2 separate regions of the Homo sapiens genome follow, and region 1 is linked to region 2. The links are contacts of gene promoters, found by promoter capture Hi-C in blood cells and fetal thymus (Javierre and others, 2016). All regions are on one chromosome and are shown on one strand. The core of a region is centred on a gene start or on the middle of the fragment in contact, and the rest is flanking DNA. Distances in the headings are between cores, read along the strand shown. Region 1 overlaps PPP1CC (protein phosphatase 1 catalytic subunit gamma). Region 2 holds the start of VPS29 (VPS29 retromer complex component).

What was found. Contacts are between HindIII fragments. The CHiCAGO score rates a contact against its expected background, and 5 or more counts as called.
Region 1: a fragment that was not itself captured here is called in contact with the fragment with the promoter of VPS29 in region 2 in 1 of 17 cell types (total B cells); the score reaches 5.6 in total B cells.

Annotation. Positions count from the first base shown.
Region 1 is chr12:110,725,735-110,731,136 of GRCh38, reverse strand. It overlaps PPP1CC (protein phosphatase 1 catalytic subunit gamma), which reads left to right. Exons shown (of 7, transcript NM_002710.4): 3 at 378-608. Among named protein-coding and RNA genes, the nearest start is that of PPP1CC, 14 kb to the left of the region's middle. The HindIII fragment of the contact is 1,329 bases long and covers 1,948-3,276 here.
Region 2 is chr12:110,499,615-110,505,552 of GRCh38, reverse strand. VPS29 (VPS29 retromer complex component) reads left to right here and starts at 3,442. Exons shown (of 4, transcript NM_016226.5): 1 at 3,442-3,504. The coding sequence starts at 3,502. RAD9B (RAD9 checkpoint clamp component B) reads right to left here and starts at 3,222. Exons shown (of 11, transcript NM_001286535.2): 1 at 3,170-3,222; 2 at 1,677-1,747. The coding sequence starts at 3,215. LOC124903015 (a long non-coding RNA gene) reads right to left here. Exons shown (of 2, transcript XR_007063458.1): 2 at 5,728-5,938. RefSeq lists an enhancer at 3,474-3,613. The HindIII fragment of the contact is 1,449 bases long and covers 3,297-4,745 here.

The sequences.
Region 1 (5,402 bases), core at 1,363-3,862, 230 kb before region 2:
AGTTCTGCTGACACAGTACCCAGAGACTGAGCTGTCAGAGATCTGATATTGATCAGTCAGCCTGAAAGGGATACCATGTTACTTGGCAAGAATGCATGCTTGGACATAATAACCCTTTCCACAGAATAAATTCTTAATAGTTGAATTTTATGTGAGGTTCTGGACATACACATATACTTAAAATTTTTGTTAAGCTCAGTTGAACTAAATATGATATAAGATTGGAAATTACTTAGTGTTGGCTGCCCAGTTAAACTCTCATTACTAGAGGTCAATGCCATTGTACAATGAATATTTAAAGAATGTCTTTCCAAAGCTTTGTTAGTGGATTGAGCTTTAAGTATGGGAACACTGTGTAACAAAATTCTTGCTTCCAGGTGACATCCATGGACAATACTATGATTTGCTGCGACTTTTTGAGTACGGTGGTTTCCCACCAGAAAGCAACTACCTGTTTCTTGGGGACTATGTGGACAGGGGAAAGCAGTCATTGGAGACGATCTGCCTCTTACTGGCCTACAAAATAAAATATCCTGAGAATTTTTTTCTTCTCAGAGGGAACCATGAATGTGCCAGCATCAACAGAATTTATGGATTTTATGATGAATGTAAGTACTTTTCTATATCTAAGGAAGAGTTATTGAAATTAAGATATTTATCATAAACAATTATCACATACTTCTGTTAGGAATTGTGAGAGTTTAGATGCAGTGGTATCATCTCTCATGTTTTCTATTTCATCAACTTGTTTTTAGCTTAGCTTTTTTAGGGGGGTGGGGGAACGGAGTCTCACTCTGTTGCCCAGGCTGGAGTGCAGTAGCACCATCTTACCTCATTGCAACCTCTGCCTCCCAGGCTCAAGCAATCCTCCTGCCTCAGCCTCCCAGGTAGCTAGGACTGCAGACATGCATCACCACGCTTGGCTAATTTGTGTATTTTTTTGAAGAGATGGGGTTTCACCTTGTTGCCCAAGCTGATCTGAAACTCCTGGCTCAAGGAATCTGCCCGCCTAGGCCACTCAAAGTACTGGGATTACTGGCGTGAGCCATGATGCCCAGCCAGTTTTTTCTCTCTTGGGTAGAAAAATAACACTGCCGCTGTAATAAAATAAGGTCTTGGATTCTTTTATGATGTGATGATCAGATTAGGAAGTAATGATCATGGTAATGGTTGCTTTAAGATTTAAATTGTTGTATTCACAGATAACTTAATTCTTAGTAGAAATCTGAGAACCATTCCAAATAGTTTTTTTAAGCAACTTTATTATGTAATTTCATTCCATAAAATTATTCTGTTAAAAGTGTACAATTCAGCGATTTGTAGTAAATTTATAGAGTTATGCGACCATCACCATAGTCCCCAGGCAACCACTAATCTACTTTTTGTCTTTTCTAGAGAATATTGCATGCAAATGGAATCTTGCAATACGTAAATAATTAGTTTTTGAAATTATTATAGTTTTTCTCCTTCTGGCATATCCACACCCAGGAAGAATGGCAATAACTTTCCTAAAACTAAAATGTGCTGAACAAAGATTATTTTTACAGTATTTTACACATTTTGTGACCCATTTTGGATTGTTTAATTAAAGGTATACTTCGATTTGACTATTGACAAAACACAGTTCTTAAAGCTTTGAAAATAGGCTGGGCACAGTGGCTCACGCCTGTAATCCCAGCACTTTGGGAGGCCACAGCGGGTGGATCACAAGGTCAAGAGATCAAGACCGTCCTGGCCAACATGAGGAAACCTCATCTCTACTAAAAATACAAAAATTAGCCAGGCGTGGTGGCAGATGCCTGTAGTCCCAGCTACTCAGGAGGCTCAGGCAGGAGAATCACTTGAACCCAGGAGTCGGAGGTTGCAGTGAGCCAAAATCACACCACAGTAGTCCAGCCTGGGTGGCAGAGTGAGACTCCGTCTCAAAAAAAAAAAAAAAAAAAAGCTTTGAAAATATCAGTTCAGTAAAGGGTTTCAAGTCAGAAAAGGTTTTGAATCTTTACCTTCACCTTCCTTTTGTGCTCATCATTGCTGCCAGGACGGGTTTCAGGTTTGGAGTGAAGAGGTGGTTAAGGAACTTCAGGTACTTGGCATTTGCTAATATGATTATAGGGATATCAGCAAAGGGTTGTCCCTGTGGCCCTCCCCTAGACCACATCGTAACCTAGAGTCTCCAGATGCAGTGTTTTTCCATCTCAATTCACATAGATATGTTGAGCTAGCACATTTGTTAGAAGTGCATCCTAGAAAGATTATATTCACAAACTGAGCCCTTCTACTACCACCCTTTCCCACAACTGGATGTTTGCTTGGTCTGTGACCTTGAGATCCAGCTGATAAGATGGGGTGGCAGGAATCATCAGGGACAAAAATTCTATGGGTTCTGGACTGACTGATAGCATTGAACTTGTACATGAAAGGTATTCAATATTAACAGTGATTCTGTGTCAGAGAAGTACCAGTAAGCCAGTTACTACTCCTTAGGTAGTGAAATGCAAGGCAGGTGTGATGGGTTTTTTTTGTTTGTTTTTGAGACAGAGCCTTAGGCTGGAGTGCAGAGGTGGGATCATAGCTTACTACCACCTGTAATTTCTGGGTTTAAGCAATCCTTTCACCTCAGCCTCCCTAAGTGCTGGGATTACAGTCATGAGCCACCACACCCAGCCAACACTGTGTTTTGGATACTTATTCCAAGTGTTACTCTTGAGTTTTTTGTTTTTTGTTTTTTTTTTTTTTTTTGAGACGGAGTCTCGCTCTGTCGCCCAGGCTGGAGTGCAGGGCGCGATCTCGCCTCACTGCAAGCTCCGCCTCCTGGGTTCACGCCATTCTCCTGCCTCAGCCTCCCGAGTAGCTGGGACTACAGGCGCCCGCCACTACGCCCGGCTAATTTTTTGTATTTTTAGTAGAGGCGGGGTTTCACTGTGTTAGCCAGGATGGTCTCGATCTCCTGACCTCATGATCCGCCCGCCTCTGCTTCCCAAAGTGCTGGGATTACAGGCGTGAGCCACCGTGCCTGGCCTGCTCTTGAGTTAAAGGATTCCTTTTACATAGCTGTTAGCCCAGCAAATACTTTTCATGTTTGCACTGATGAATTCAAATCCAGTTGACCTCATTTTTGTGACGTGTATCCTAATGTAATGATACTGGCTGCATCAGTTTCGGTTTCTACTTAATGCAGAGGCCTTTAAAAAATGACTTAGAAGATCAGTGTTGGTTGGTATCAGTTTCGACTCCTGTTTGGTCATCAACACAATTTGTAGATCTTATGCTCAAGCTTCCTCTCTCTCATCAGGCAGATATAATTTGCCATCCAGTCTACTTGTGGGCATGAAAGTGCCCTTGACATAGGTGGCTTTTGGTTGAAGGCTTGCAGACATTTAATATATATATAAAATACTTAACTAATTTTATTAAAATGAAAAGTTGTATTCAAATGTTGATTTTCATGGGACAATTTAAAAACCACTGCCTGTTTTCCAGGTACATAAGTACTTTATACTACCATTTCTTTTTTTTTTTTTTTTAACTTTGTAAATGTGATGGAAAGGCTGAGGTATATGTTGTTGGGTAAAACATGAGTGTTTGTTGATCTGTTTCTGCTGCCGTAGCTGTCTGATGTACAGTAATGCGAAACCGCATTACAGGTTATGGCTCAGAATCTTAGGATTTGGAAGCTAGGCGATTACCCTGGCTAAACCTTTCAGGAGCCAGATGTTCCTAGTGGTCTGAGGTAGCCTTAGGGAGGAAATGAAGAGAGAATAGAAAGAGGCAGGCCCACGCTTAAAGTGCTGAGAGGGAAAAGGAGGAAACAAACTGATTTTTGATGGAGAAGCCAGCAGGAATCAGCAGGAGAAGCTGGAGTATGTGGCATAACTAAAGAATCAAAGCCGGGGCGTGGTAGCTCACGCCTGTAATCCCAGCACTTTGGGAGGCCAAGGTGGGTGGATCACTTGAGGTCAGGAGTTCAACCTGATCACAAGAGGTCAGGAGGTCTGACCAACATGGGGAAAACCCATCTCTATTAAAAATACAAAAATTAGCTGTGGTGGTGCACACCTGTAGTCGCGGACACTCAGGAGATTGAGGCAGGAAAATCACTGGAACCTGGGAGACCATGGTTGCAGTGAGCCAAGATTGCGTCGCTTCATTCCCCCTAGGTGATGCAGTGAGACCCCACCTCAAAAAAAGTATCCAGAAGTGAAGCTGACCTTGGGGAAAGAGGAAGTCACTGTCACTGGGGAGCTAAGACAGCAGCTCTGTTTTTATAATACAGGTTAAGTATTCCTTACCGGGAATGCTTGGCACTAGAAGTGTTGCAGGTTTTTTGTTTTTGTTTTTAATTTTGGAATATTTGTGTTATAATTACTGGTTAAACATCCCTAATCCAAAAATCTGAAATCCAGAATGCTCCAGTGAGCATTTCCTTTGAGCATCATGTGAGTGCTCAAAAAGTTCCAAATTTTGGAGCATCTTGGATTAAGGATACTCATCCTGTGGTGGTAGTAGTAGTAGTATTGCTGTTGGAAATGGGAGTTGGTGGTTTTTGGAGATTGCCCTTCAGCCTTTCGTAAGAAGGAGTTTGCTTTTTTTTGAGACGGAGTTTCACTCTTGTTGCCCATGCTGGAGTGCAATGGTGCGATCTTGGCTTACTGCAACCTCTGCCTCCCAGGTTCAAGCAATTTTCCTTCCTCAGCCTGGCGGGAGAAGTTTGTTAAACTTTCCGAACCCCCTAGTGAAGGACCTCTAAAGAAATATGCAACAGGGTGAACCATAGTCAGTGTTAGACCCAGTCATTGAGAAACCAGAAATTATTAGGAGAAAAGATAACACTCCTCTGCAGAGAGAAGGCAAACATTTGTTGAATTTACATTTCATTTCAAGCCCTGTGGTAAACTCCCTAAGCTGCTTGATTTGCATTACAGGGTGGGAGGTGTGGTTCAGGTCAGTTGCTTGGGCTGGCTCTAACTCTCAAAGGAGAGGTATAGGTTTAAACCTTTAGATGTCCCTGTATTCCCCAGGAAAAGAGACTAAGGACAAACTCTTGGTTTGTTTTGTTTGTTTTGTTTTGTTTTTTGAGACGGAGTTTCGCTCTTGTTGCCCAAGCCGGAGTGCAATGGCACAATCAAGGCTCACCGCAACCTCCGCCTCCCAGGTTCAAGTGACTCTTCTGCCTTAGCCTCCCAAGTAGCTGGGATTACAGGCATGCGCCACCACGCCCAGCTAATTTTTATATTTTTAGTAGAGACGGGATTTCTTCATGTTGGTCAGGCTGGTCTCAAACTCCCAACCTCAGATGGTCTGCCCGCCTCGGCCTCCCAAAGTGCTGGGATTACAGGTGTGAGCCACCGCGCCTGGCCAAACTCCTGGTTTTTAAAGATTGTGCTTAGTATAGTAAGTACAGG
Region 2 (5,938 bases), core at 2,193-4,692:
TCCAAGCACTTTGGGAAGCCAAGGCAGGAGGATGGATGGAAGCCAGGAGTCTGAGACCAGCCTGGCCAACAGAGCAAGACCCCACCTCTATTTTTTTATTTTAAAAAAATTTAGGAGAAAATAAACTTTCTTTACATAATAGCTTGATTCAGAAAACGTCATTATGTTTAACATCACAGTTAAATGTGTTCAAATAAGAACATGGGATGTTAATTATGGACTGCCCTATATAGTCTGTATTGAATTTGCATATATATACATATATGTACACCTATAATATATACAGGACATAACCTGTATTCTATACTTGATAGTTTAAATGGCATTCAGGACAAGTCTGTTAATTTATTATACACCTATATATATACATACATATAGGTGTACATACATGTATATATACAAGCATGTACGTATATATAGGTGTATACATATATGTATATTATATTGAATACATATATGTGTTAAATCTAAAAGTTTACATGTTGAAAACATAAAATAGTAAATGCCTACAGGGGCCTTAACTTTCTTTTAATTTCTTTTTTACTTTTTTTCAAAAAACCAGCCTGTTGGCCAGGCTGGAGTGCAATGGTACCACCGCAGCTCACTGCAGCCTCCAAACCCCTGGCCTCAACCAATCCTCCCTCCTCTCAGCCTTCCAAGTAGCTGGGACTACAGGCACACAACATATCACCCGACTAATTTTTAAAATTTTTTTGTAGAGACAGGTAGTGTCTTGCTTTGTTGCTCAGGCTGGTCTCGAACTCCTGGGCTCAAGTGATCCTCCTGTCTCAGCCTCCCAAAGTGCTGGGATTACATTTGTGAACTACCACACCCAGTCATGAGCCTTAACCTTAATGTGTGAAATGGCAAAAGGCAATATATAAGGGAGTTGCAATATATAAGGGAGTTACAGCATATTGGCGGTCTCACACCTTGTCTAAGCGGGGAAACCATTACTCAGTTTCAGCCAACTACTTCCACTTGGGAATGAATGCAGTCCCAAAACTGTCAGGTCTTCTGAATTTTCAAGAGAAGCAGGAAAAATTTGACTCAATTTTTTTTTTTTTTTTTTTTGGGACGGAGTCTCACTCTCACTCTGTTGCCCAGGCTGGAGTGCAGTGGCACCATGTCGGCTCACTCACTGCAACCTCCATCTGCTGGATTCAAGCAATTCTCCCACCTCAGCCTCCCGAGTAGCTGGGATTACAGGTGCCCACCACCATGCCAGGCTAATTTTTATATTTTTAGTAGAGAAGGAGTTTCACCATGTGGACCAGGCTAGTCTCGAACTCCTGACCTCAGGTGATCCACCCACCTCGGCCTCCCAAAGTGCTGGGATTACAGGCGTGAGCCATCGCGCCCGGCCTCAATTTTTAAATGTTGGAAATTATTTCAAATTAAAAAAAAAAAAAAACAGTGCAGGCCAACAAACATTCCTGCAGACCGTAGCTAGTCTCTTAACTACCAGTTTGTGACTTCCAGTTTAAATCAATCAAGCTTATCTGCATATTTTCAACTTTACCATGCTCTAAGTGTATTCAGATATGTAAAATAAAGATAAACAGTGAAAGGGATAATTACAATTTCTGGATTTCCTAGTTAACATTCAATCTGGACTGGGATCTTTAAACATCTCCTCTTGCCTTGATACGTGATCTGTTAACTTTCTTACTTACACCTTTTTTAGATGGGTCTAGCCAGAACTCGTCACTAATTCGTGATAGAGCTTGAACTGCTTTCCCAAATACTATGGAGAAAAAGAAAGGTGATGCTTATATTCTTTCCCTCTAACAATAAAAACAAATCACAAGACTAGTTCAGCATTCAGAGGACTCAAGAGAAATTCAAAAATAACAGTATCTTACAGACTAATGCTACATTACTTTAATACAGTATAATACCCTTGGCAAAATGCCAGACACATAGTCAGGGCTCAATAAATTTGTAGTGTGTGAAATGATAAAATTGACCGAAATTTGTCCTTCTATATGTTTACAGTGTTGCATGGAGCTACTGTGCAAACCAATTTCCATACTAATGTATTTTACAACTTGATTTAGATAAATGTATTTGACCCCCCAAAAACTGTGAAAACAGTGCATGGAGAAGATAATCTGAAGTGGTTTTAATAGCTTGATAGCCAAGTCACAACAAGTCATGAGAGAGAAATTAGGGGTATCCAACATACATCTCTGATGTTTGAGGGCAGCCAGATTTCCCCACCACAGAACACATTTAGGGCTGGAAAACACACTAGTCTGATCCCGTACGACATTGTTAATGTTCTTTTTATTTTTTATTTTTTTTGAGACAGAGTCTCACTCTGACACTCAGGCTGGAGTGCAGTGGCACGAGCTCAACTCACTGCAGCCTCAACCTCCCGGGCTCAATCGATCCTCTCGCCTCAGCCTTCCAAGTAGCTTGGGATTACAGGCGCCCACCACTAAGCCCGGCTAATTTTTGTATGTTTAGTAGAGACGGGGTTTCATCATGTTGGTCAGGGTGGTCTCGAACTCCCGACCTAAGGTGATCCACCCGCCTTGGCCTCCCAAAGTGCTAGGATTACAGGCGTGAGCCACTGCACCCGGCCTAACTTCCATTTTGAAAGCGCCGTTTACAACACTAATAGTTCTTGTACATTCCATCTATTACTGGGCTCTTTACACGCATTTCCATTTCATTGCCTCCAAACAAACTCTGTGACGAAGGTGCTGTCATTACCCCTGTTTCCGTTTTAGAAACTGAGCCCCAAAGAGATTTAGTGACTTTTCCAAGTTCATACATTTTTAAAAATGGTAGAATCTGGGGAAAAAAAAAACCAGGTTAATGCTGTTCTCTTGGCACAAAAATACTTTTACTGTCCAAGCATTATTTTTTTCTCTCAACTCTTCCCCATGCAGTCCTCAGCATCCCGAGTTTGTGGCCCGATGGTACAACTCTATTTCCCGGATACCACCCATATTACATCTGCCTCTAAGTCACACGAGATGGGTCCTCATCCTCCCCTCAGAAGTTAACAGGGACTTGAGTGGGTGGGGCTGTGGCCAGGGCGTGCGTCCTCAGTCATTGCGCAAAAAGGCAAAGAGGAAAAATTAGACAATGGTAGGGACGACCTATTAACGTCTGCTTTTCTCTCTGCTAAATGGGAAGACAACAAAGGCCGCTCCACCTTTCACCTGACTGCCGCTCATCACGCACTTCAGCATGGCTGCCATCCGCCCTAAAAAGCAGGCTCGGAAGGCGCGCCTCAGCTCGACGGCCCAGGTGCCCGGATGTTGCCCGCGCTTTTCAAAGCTTCGCGATCTCGTCTCTGCACTCTACCACCCCGCCTCCACAAGTTCCCAAACGGCTTTACGGCGGAGAAGGGTCCGTGCGGGCCTCCGTACGGCAATTTCTGTCTCCCTCTGCTCTCATTGGTTGCGGTTAAGTGGGCGGGTCGCCGAGGAGCCTGAGGAAGAGGGCGGCGACGGTGGTGGTGACTGAGCGGAGCCCGGTGACAGGATGGTGAGGGCTGCAGTTGCGGCGACCAAGGCCTGGCTCTCGGGTGGGGTGCTGCGTTGTTGGGAGCCGTGGGGAGGCCGAGGGCGAGGAATTGGGAAATCCCGGAGGCCTCGGCGTCAGGGCCCAGGCGCTGGCCTGGGAAAGGCCCAGAAGAGGTCTAGGGAAGGAAGGGAGCGGCCACCTCTGGGTGCGGCTGGCCTAGGTCTCGTATCCCGGCCCCAAGGGGCCAGAGGCCATCCAAGGGGTAAAAAGGCCCCTCTAGCAGCCCGACCTGTCACGAGACACGCACGCCCGAGCCAGGGAAGGCCTTTGGTCCTATACCTCGAATGTTCCGGGGATAGGGGCACGGTCCTCCGTTTCCAGACGGTTCCTACTCGTTTCCCGCAAAAAGCACCTCCCGCTGGTTGGGGTGTAGTGGTGGAAGCTGGCCTCTCGAATGCAGAACAGGAAGTAGCGAGCAGAATTTCGTACCCGTTTAACTTTGCCATCTAGGGAAAGGGAATAAACCACCCTCCTCGCTCCTGAAATAACATCTAGCTGCCATTGAGATGAGCAGGTGTGCTCTCAGAGGGCGGGATTTGGCGCTTGCAATTGCTGGAACTGTTTCTTTCCACGGGTTGCTACGCCTCTTTAGGGTAGGATTCCTTAATGATGTGTGAACTCATTGAAACTGTTGGGAAATTTTTGTGAATATACACATTTTTCTGGGGAGAGTGCCGGTGTTGGAGACTTACCTAGTCTCCCCCAGCCACCTTCAAGCAATCACCCCTTCACCCCCAGTAGTTTGGTGCCCCTCAGACCTTCCTACATAAAAACTGGGGGCCTCTACTAGAGAGGACTCAGAGCTGTAATCATATTTTCTTTCTTTCTTTTTGAGATGGAGTCTCGCTCTGTCGCCCAGGCTGGAGTGCAATGCCGCGATCTCGGCTCACTGCAATGCCGCCCGGGTTCAAGCCTCAGCTCCTGCCTCAGCCTCCCGAGTAGCTGGGATTACAGGCGCCCGCCACCAAGCCCGTCTAAATTTTTGTATTTTTAGTAGAGACGGGGTTTCACCATGTTGGTCAGGCTGGTCTCTACCTCCCGACCTCAGATGATCCACCCGCCTCGGCCTCCCAAAGTGCTGGGGTTACAGGCGTGAGCCACCGCGCCCGGCCTGTAATCATATTTTCAAAGGTGCCTTTGACTCTTAAAAAGTCAATTGTTTGGGGCAACCCACTCGGGTCCCCTTCCACCCTGTGTAAGCTTTGTTCTTTCGCTCTTCACAATAAATCTTGCTGCTGCTCAAAAAAAAAAAAAAAATCAATTGTTTGAAATGGAGCTGTGATTATCTTCATATTTGTGTTGATGGAGGTTGGCTGTAAAGGGACGTCTACCTCTGACAGGCATTTATTGCATTCTTTTTTATTTTTACAAGGAAACCAAAGAAGCTATGCATTTTTAAGATTATTACTATTGCATGACAAACAGCCTTTTCAAGAGGGGGACTTACAGACATGGCAGCCAGAGATTTATGGTGCATGCTTCTTTAAAATCTTTAATCTCACTTTTAATTTTTGCTTCTAAACAGACTCCAATTTAAAGTAATCCGTTTACAGTAATTTCGAGACACCTATCCATGGGAGAAGACATAATTACTTGCCATGGTTTCAAAATATTAATGTTTCTCAAGTTGTTTGAGAAGTGATCCCTCTTATTTAGGGTAGTTGTACTGGAACATCATTTTTCATATGAAATAGAACTGGGAAAAATTTAGCATTAGCCAGTTCTTTCATGATTAAAAGCATTTTATTTGGCAAAGGATACAGACGTTCAACACTCAGTACAGTGTCCAGAGTCTGTGGGCAGCAAATTCAAGTGTGGGAAAGGTCCAGTTTTACCTGAATAAATGTGTTTGTTTTTATTATTTTGTCTTCACCTTTAGTTGATTTGTTCAACACTTGATAATGTATTCATGGTGCTGTGTTGCATCAGCTACAAAAAATCACCTAGCCGCAGCATAATTTTCCAGCTACTAGAATTTTGAATGTAAGATAATTAACATCCATATACTTGAATAATTAAACCCTAAGAATCCAGAAAATGTTAGCCTTTCAGCTATTACTGATGATAAATTTTCCACAGTGTCTTGTAGAAATCCAAATTCATTATTTTATAAAATCTTATAAAAATCTAAACAGAATGGAAAACAGAGATGGAAGTCGATGTACAGAACAAGATTAGGAAAAGTAGGAGAAACTGACAAGACAAATTTATTAAAAAGTGTGTGTGTCATGTTCAAAAATAAAGCAAATATTTATTTTGGTATTGTTTTGAGCACAGCTGATTTTTAACATTTTCTTTCATAACACTCAGAAATCATTAACAATTGTTTGCTCATTTGGTATGGGTTTTTTGTTCTCTTTTTTTTTTTTGGTTTCTTTTTGTTGCTTTCTTTTAA